Regions from separate parts of the Homo sapiens genome. Here region 2 is linked to region 1. The links are contacts of gene promoters, found by promoter capture Hi-C in human tissues and cell types (Jung and others, 2019). All regions are on one chromosome and are shown on one strand. The core of a region is centred on a gene start or on the middle of the fragment in contact, and the rest is flanking DNA. Distances in the headings are between cores, read along the strand shown.

What was found. The method cuts DNA at HindIII sites, captures the fragments that hold promoters and counts their contacts. A contact is called where the count stands out against the background at its distance.
Region 2: a contact is called between a fragment that was not itself captured here and the fragment with the promoter of NOLC1 in region 1, in 1 of the 25 tissues and cell types used here (H1 embryonic stem cells).

What each region holds. Positions count from the first base shown.
Region 1 is chr10:102,150,013-102,154,239 of GRCh38, reverse strand. NOLC1 (nucleolar and coiled-body phosphoprotein 1) reads right to left here and starts at 1,851. Exons shown (of 13, transcript NM_004741.5): 1 at 1,710-1,851. The coding sequence starts at 1,829. PPRC1 (PPARG related coactivator 1) reads right to left here. Exons shown (of 14, transcript NM_015062.5): 14 at 3,907-4,227. The coding sequence ends at 4,211. RefSeq lists enhancers at 1,741-1,790, 1,961-2,260, 1,166-2,365. The HindIII fragment of the contact is 9,767 bases long and covers 1-4,227 here.
Region 2 is chr10:102,285,190-102,289,416 of GRCh38, reverse strand. All of the region lies in intron 3 of GBF1 (golgi brefeldin A resistant guanine nucleotide exchange factor 1), which reads right to left. Among named protein-coding and RNA genes, the nearest start is that of GBF1, 42 kb to the right of the region's middle. The HindIII fragment of the contact is 5,851 bases long and covers 1-4,227 here.

The sequences.
Region 1 (4,227 bases), core at 602-3,101:
ATTAGCCAGGCATGGTGGGGCACACCTGTAGTCCCAGCTACTTGGGAAGCTGAGGCAGGAGAATCACTTTAGCCTGAGAGGCAGAGGTTGCAGTGAGCTGAGATCGTGCCACTGCACTCCAGCCTGGGCGACAGAGCCAGACTCCGCCTCAAAAAAAAAAAAAAAAAAAATTAAATGCATGTGAAGGGCGTAGCATCTGACCCTTAGTTAGCTCTTCACAAAGATTAGCTTTTCTCACATAAAACCATTTCAGAATCCTAATCCTGAGGCCGGGCACGGTGGCTCGCGCCTGTAATCCCAGCACTTTGAGAGGCTGAGGCAAGTGGATTTCTTGAGGTCAGGAGTTCAAGACCAGCCTGGCCAACATGGTGAAACCTCATCTCTACTAAAAATACAAAAATTAGCCGGGCGTGGTGGTACGCGCCTGTAATCCCAGCTACTGGGGAGGCTGAGGCAGGATAATCACTTGAACTTGGGAGGCGGAGGTTACAATGAGCCGAGATCGCACCATTGCACTCCAGCCTGGGCAACAGAGACTCCGTCTCAAAAAAAAAAAAAAAAAAAAAAGAATCCTAATTCTGAAATGTCCAATTCCATCCAGTCCACTGTGAAAGCACTCTCCGCAGTCTCCTTAACAGTCAACTCTAAACAGTTTCATTAAGAAAGCAGTTAGATCACATGGCAGCCTGTCCCAGCTTAAGGAAGTTTTGAGGCTGATCTGATTCTTTGCTTTCGCAGCCTGATTCTGCTAAAAGTGCAAGCCATCCTTCCTAGTCATGCTATCATCCCTGCTGAAGACCCCCCCTCTCTCCTCTCTCAAAGTGTCTTCCCATGCAGGAATGTCCGTTGATGTAGATTACAAACCTTTCACATTCCTGGTTCTCTTACTCTTACATGTGTTTGGAGCATCCTAAATTGCCATAACTATGGTACAGCTTTCACTTTTACAAGATTCCTCTGTACCAGCACTGAGATTGCTACTCTTACACATCATCTTACTGAAACTCACAAAAATCCTATAAAGTGGATGATGACATCCCTGTAGAAAGACTCAGAAAGGTTAAATAAACTGCCCGGGTCACGTATCTAAAAAGTGGCAGAGCCTGGTCCCAAACCTAGGTTTGTTTGATTCAATTAGCCAAAGCTCCAAGCCCACTACTATGCCTACTTGGTAGGGCTGTTGATGACTCTCAATTCTCAGTGTAACTCAAAACAAAACTCTGCTTCTACTTTCATTCATTTTCTTCTTTACAAACGAAAATCCCAGACTTCATTCTAAAGAAATTTCACTTGCTTTTGAATCCCAGTAAATGTGACTGAGGCTAAGGTCAAATCACGGTTTGCCTCACCCAACGAAAAGCCCCCCAGAAGATGCCGAAGAACCAACGTCCTCAGTGGAACAAGACTCTACCTCCCCGCTGCACTCTGCCAGCCATGTGGCTTGGGGCCACGAGGCTCCCACGCTGCCGCCGCTGCACAGGTCACAAGAAAAAAGCAACAAGACTCAGCGATATCTACTCAGACATGGAGGAAGGTAAGCGACCGAGGCCGCAGGCTTTCTCTGGTCACTGCCGAGGGGTCGGCGTAAAGGCCTTGCAGACACTGGACTGGCGGACCCCCAGACTTCCCCACCTGGAAACCTAAGCACGTCAGGGCCTGAAGCCTTGTGGTCATCTCAGCCCGGTCCCCGCCCCAAGCCCGGAACTCACAGCTCCTGTCGCTTTGGCGAACTTATTGGCCACCTCTGAGAGTTGGTTATCGCGCAGGAAGCCGAGCACGAGGGGATACAGGTCGCTGGGAACCACGCGGCGAATGCCGGCGTCCGCCATCCTCCAGGCAATACGCGTCACTACCGTTGTCGACGCAGCACGACTCAGGAACCCAACAGGGGCAGTGGGCGGGCCTGTGTTACGTCATTGCGCCGCGCGGGCGCATAACGGAAAGGGTGGGCTCCACAGGGCAGTCCCACCTTCACCTCAGAGGTAGGGTAGACGGGAAATCTATAAACTCTTTCCGGTCCCACGCGTATCGCCATCTTGGTTAAGGGCGGAGCCCACCGGCCGCCAGCTTGTGGAGGCGGAGCTCTGACGTCAGGGATCACGCCCTCGGCGTGGCGGGAAAACTCGGGACTTCCCGCGCAGTCTTTCTGGGGGAGGTACCTTTTCTCAGAGCAGCGGTTTCCCGCGCCCCTGCTGGGACTCGGATTCCAGAGTAATGAGTGGACAAGCGGGCTCGAACAGTTGTTCTACAAGATCTCCCAACCGCCCCCATGGCGTACTGGCACGGCCAATGGATTCTCGCCCTTCATCTTCACTGCCTCCAATACCCAGGGAGGCCCTTTCTGATACCATCCCAGCCTCCAGACTCCTGCCTCTGCTGCAGAAGATCCTTCGGGTTATCCGTCGTGAGGGTGGGAGGTGTTGATTTCCCAAGCTGCCCCTCCCATCTCCCTTATATTCCGCCTTAGGTCAGCTCCATGAAGAGGAAAGGTGTCATGCACCAAACCTGAATCACACACAGCAACAATCTATTCAAGCTGAAGAGATTGTTGAAAATAACCCTTCTTCCTCCGGGATCAGAGTTCACACTCTGCCTTTGTCATGAGTAACTCCAGTATCAATGCCTTTGTCATGAGTAACTCCAGTATCAATGCTCAGACCTACCAAGTTAATTCCAAGTTCTGCCACATTCCAGATATTAGCAGTTAGCAATCCCTTCAATCCTACCCACTACCCCTTGGCTACCTCCCACTAATGCCGCTCAGGAAAGATAAGGATCCTCATGGGAACACACCCCCCTCTCCTATATAAAATTGGCCAGGCATAGTGGCTCACAACTGTTATCTCAACACTTTGGAAGGCCTAGGTGGGAGGATCCCTTGAGCCCAGGAGTTAAGAGGCCAGCCTGGACAACACAGTGAAACCCCCCTATCTCTACAAAAAATTTTTAAAATTAGCCAGGTGTAGTGGCATGCACCTGTGGTCCCAGCTACTTGGGAGGCTGGGGCAGGAGGATCAACTGAGCCAGGGAGGTCAAAGCTGCAATGAGCTATGATCCTGCCACTGCAATCCAGCCTGGGCCACAGAGTGAGATCCTATCTCAAAAATCAAAAACAAAGCTGGGCACGGTGGTTCATGCCTGTAATCTCAGCACTTTGGGAGGCTAAGGTGGGTGGATCACCTGAGGTCAGGAGTTCAAGAACAGCCCTGGCCAACATGGTGAAACCCTGTCTCTACTAAAAATACAAAAAAAATTAGCCAGGCATGGTGGCGGGTGCCTGTAATCCCAGCTACTCAGGAAGCTGAGGCAGGAGAATCACTTGAACCCGGGAGGCAGAGGTTGCAGTAAGCCAAAATCGTGCCACTGCACTCCAGCCTGGGAGACAGAACAAGACTCCATCTCCAAAACAAAACAAAAAAATTCAAAAACAGAAACAAAAAACTCCACAGTTCCCTCTTCCCCACGCTTCCTGTTCTACCCACATGCATGCATTATTTAAAACATTTGAGCACCTGCTGTGCCATGCAGTGTGCTCAAGCTATTATAAAATGATGAACATAACTGACATGATGAATGTATACACCTGTCGCAGTTTAGAAAACCTTTCTTTGGAACAAGTGTGAGCTTCTCTAGGTCCTTGTTATCAAAATCCCTTCCTGGACCAGTATCATCATCCCATTGTCAGAATCTACATTCTAAAAAGATCGCTAGATGATTCAAATTCCCTTTAAAGTTGAGAAGCACTGTCCTAAATGACTCATTTTAGACAATACATCTGAGGAACCAAGGTTCAAATCCAGTGGGATTTTTGCACCTGACCAGGGAGAGGCATGTCCCTGGACCATGTTCAGATAGGAAAAGTGAATACATTTGGCATTAGCACCATATAAAGACGCACAACAGCAGTTGGGAGTTCTCTCTAGTTGATGTTTATTAGTCTGCATAGTGACTTATGTTCCAAACACTGGGGATCCCCTCAGCCCCTCCTATCTTACATAGGAATGCAAGTTAACTTGTTTCAATACCTGTTATAAAAAAACAAATACCCCTTTTAAAAAATCTGATTCAACATATTTTTTATTTCACTTTTTTCCATTTCTTTATAAAACAGTCATCTCACTAGCAGCTCTCTCCCCTAGAGTAGGGGAAGGGGGTGGAGGAGGTTGGGCACCTCCAAAGGAGAAAAAGGATAGCAGGGAAGGGCCCAAGGTTACCTCCTGAGGTTCT
Region 2 (4,227 bases), core at 787-3,286, 130 kb before region 1:
ATTCTCCATTGTAACAACCTCACCCCTGTTCTCTGCCCCACACTTCCACCCACCTCCTGTCACCAAGAGCTGAATAAGTATATTCTCACAAGGATTTCTATTATCAGGTATAGAGTAAGGTATGTACCAAGGAGGGAAAGACATCAATGAAACTGCATAGCTGGAATGATTACCAAACACAGAGGCAAGACAGTGTCCCTGGTTAGCTTTAGGGTCTGCCTGTGCAGTCCTCATCACTGTGGCTATCGACTTGCTTGTCCTAGAAAGGTGAAGAATAGTAAATAACTCCTAAGGCTTTTTTTTTTTTTTTTCTGAGACAGAGTCTTTGCTCTGTCACCCAGACTGGAGTGCAGTGGCATGATCTTGGCTCACTGTAACCTCTGCTTCCTGGGTTCAAGTGATTCTCATGCCTCAGCCTTCCAAGTAGCTGGGATTACAAACGTGTGCCACCACACCCAGATAATTTTTTTGTATTTTCAGTTGAGATGGGGTTTCACTGTGTTAGCCAGGCTGGTCTCAAACTCCTGGCCACAAGTAATCCGCCCGCCTCAGCGTTCCAAAATGCTGCAATTACAGGCGTGAGCCACCACATGCGGCCAACTCCTAAGGCTCTTATCTGACTGGTATACAAAGGACCAGATGAATCTATCTAGTGACAAGTAATTTCGTTTTTTTTTTTTGTTTTTTTTTTTTTCCTTTGAGACGGAGTCTCGCTCTGTCGCCCAGGCCGGACTGCGGACTGCAGTGGCGCAATCTCGGCTCACTGCAAGCTCCGCTTCCCGGGTTCACGCCATTCTCCTGCCTCAGCCTCTCGAGTAGCTGGGACTACAGGCGCCCGCCACCGCGCCCGGCTAATTTTTTGTATTTTTAGTAGAGACGGGGTTTCACCTTGTTAGCCAGGATGGTCTCGATCTCCTGACCTCATGATCCGCCCGCCTCGGCCTCCCAAAGTGCTGGGATTACAGGCGTGAGCCACCGCGCCCGGCCGTAATTTCGTTTTTAAATCACTCCCGAGCATTAGGTCTTTATCTCCATTTTGGAGATCCTGGATAGAATCCAAAAAGAGCTCATATCATTATATCATTATATATCTCAGTCTGAAAAAAACATGGTAACACTGTAACTCTAGTCAGTCTAGTTCATTTGCACCAAATTTTAGAGGATCAGTAGTAAATAGGTGGAGAAACCACAAAGGATTATCTGAATCCAGTTGAAGTGCTCTCATGAGCAGAAGCCTCCTTTGACCAGCTGCCATGGATGTCCCAGCAAAACGGGTAGAGGAGGTAGATCGATCATGCTTACTGGCTTGCTTTAGAAAAACGGAAAGTTTTTACTAGCGCTTATGGCTGAGACAGCAAAGGAAGAGAAAGAGATATTTGCCATATACATATTGGACAATTTCAGAGACATAAAGGTTTGGGAGAAGACAGGGAGACAGGGCTGACTGGGGAGAACAAAATTTTTCAAATTAAAAAAATCAATCTTGAAGTCCCAGTGAACATCTAAAAATTTCCATTTAACTTCCTGCAAGGCCAGCCTCCAAGATGACTCCCAGTGATGTCCCCAGTGATTACATCTTTATGTATTTAGGTTGGTCTATGTGACTAATATAATATAGCAGGAGTGATGGTTACTCCTGAGGTTTACTTCTGAGGTTGGGTCAGAAAACAAAGTGTGGCTTCTGCTCTCTCTCAGATCATTCACCTATGGAGAATCTAGTTTCCATGCTGTGAGCAGTCCTATTGAGAGGCCCACATTGTGAGGAACTGAGGCCTCTGGCCAACAACCACATGAATGAACTTGGAAATGGATCTTCCAGCCCACCCCTTCAAATGACTGCTGCCCTGGCTGACATCTTGAGAGACCCTAAGCCAGAACCACTAGCTAAGCAGCTCCCAGATTCCTGACCCTTAGAAATTGTGTGAAATAGACCAGGTGCAGTGGCTCATGCCTGTAATCCCAGCACTTTGGGAGGCCAAGGTGGGAGGATCACTTGAGCCCAGGAGTTTGAGACTAGCCTGGGAAACACAGTGAGACCTCATCTCAAAAAAAAAAAAAAAAAAAAAAAAAAAGAAAATAAAATAAAAGAAACTGTGTGAAATTTTTTTTGTTTTTTAATTTTAAGCTGCCACATTTTGGGGGGTAATTTGCTACCCAGCAATAGATGGGTAGGAGAGGTAATTTGTTGGGGTAATTTGTTACCCAGCAATCGATAACATAATAACATAACATCAAACTAAGCAAGTTTGATGGGGAAATGTACCATTTGATATCATTATTTCATCTACTGGTTGAGAAAGAATCATCTGCAAATTAAAAGTGGTTATTGCCTATGATACCATTAAAAGCTAAATATGCCTAAAGAAGGGGCTCCACTGGAGGGAATGAATTGTCCTTCTCTTCCAACACTAATCTAAGGCTTGTCACAGCCAAAAAGGCCCCATCAGAAGAGTCCAACACAGTCCCCTCCCAGTAATTATATTACATATCCTACAGCCATAAATGGGGGTTAGTTAAGGGTAGGTTTCACATACAAGGCAGCCACTGTAAGGGTGTCGTCTCACATCAGAGCAGTCAAGGGGTTAAAGTTGAGGCAGCAAATTTATCCCCAGAGATATATGTCTAGCACAAAGCTGAGATTCACAAGATTCTCCCTGAGTTTTCCTTACCTCTAAATGCTGGAATAACTGATGCTCACTGAATTCCGATATTTGTATGAATAAAAATGAAGGGATTTAGCAAATCTTGTTCCTGCACACAGTTGTCAAAAAAAATCTGACCTTTACAACAGGAAAAAGAGGGGGGATTTAAAGATTTAAAGAAGAGGCAGTGACTGTCTGATGTATAACAAACCTTTGAAAAATTATGAAGCAGTGAAAATCCCCTACAGGTCCCAACAAAATGTGTCCAATTTGCATTCCAGCAAAGCTTTCCATACATACCATTTGGCTCCTGTGTGTACTTCCAGGCAAATAAATCCCGAGGAATAATCCCACTGGGACCTAAGTCTGATCTCTGATATATTACTGCTACACAGCTCCAGACCAGGCTCCACAAACTGCCTTTTTGGTTCCAAATAACTAAATCAAAGTCATCCTGATAAGCTTTGAAAACAGGGAATGCGAGGAGTGGTTTAATGAATGTTACAACTCAACCTATTATAGACCACAGTACATTAGGAGAAGAGAAAGAAAGACAGAAAAAAAAAAAAAAAAAAAAAAACCCTTATGCTTTTACATCCCCAAATCTCTCAAGGCCAAATCCAGACATACCTGTCATTCACCACACCTCACTATAAAGCCTTGTTCAAAGCCTGACTTTGATCAAATGGTTAGGATGAATTTGCAAACCCAACAACACTGTGTATTGTGGTGGGGAAAGGAGGAAGGTAAGTAGAGGCTACAATTTTGTTTACTTTGAAAACAGGTTCAACCTTTTTTTTTAAAGCAACCAATGGCAGCAATAAACACTAAAATGTATTCTGATTTATAATATTTCAAGGAGATACAGCAAACACATTAAATAGCAAAATAATTTTTTTCTAAAAGTTAGAAAAACCTACCACTCAACATATAAACTGGAGAAAACAGTCAAAGAAAAAAAAAGAAGGAAAGCTACAATTCTAGAAAAAACGGAGAGAGCTAGAAGTTCCAGCGTCCTAGATTTCTGTACCAGTTTTCTCCTTTCACAAGAAGAAACTAATTTTCACCTTTCACAAGAAGAAAATAATTTTCACAAAAGAAAAACAAACTAAAACATTAATCACAGTGACTATTAGACAAATCACAAAATATATAGATGCAAGAAGTAGAAACTGAGAGACTAAAAAAGAGAGGGGTAAGAAGAGAACACTTAGGAACTCAACAGTTTGATGTAGAAGACATCAAAATAAGAAACCACCCAGCCACACAGTAAGGAGATGGGAACATTAGAGTTTTAATATCTGTACATAGTATCATTGTAAGTAGTGGCGAAGTAACATCCAAATTCAGTTTATATAGCACCTTAAAAAGAGCCAGTCATTTATCAGGAATTAGAGTTAACTCCCTCCCCAGAAGGTTATTCTGTGAGCAGGAAGATAAGCTGGTAATGTGTAAGCAAACTGAGCTACCTGTATAGTCAGCAAGACCTAGCCTATTGCCTGGTCCAGGATTCTGATGGCAAATGAAACCAGAAATACCATCATCTACTTTCAAGACCCAAAGTGTAACTGACACTCTTCTTTTG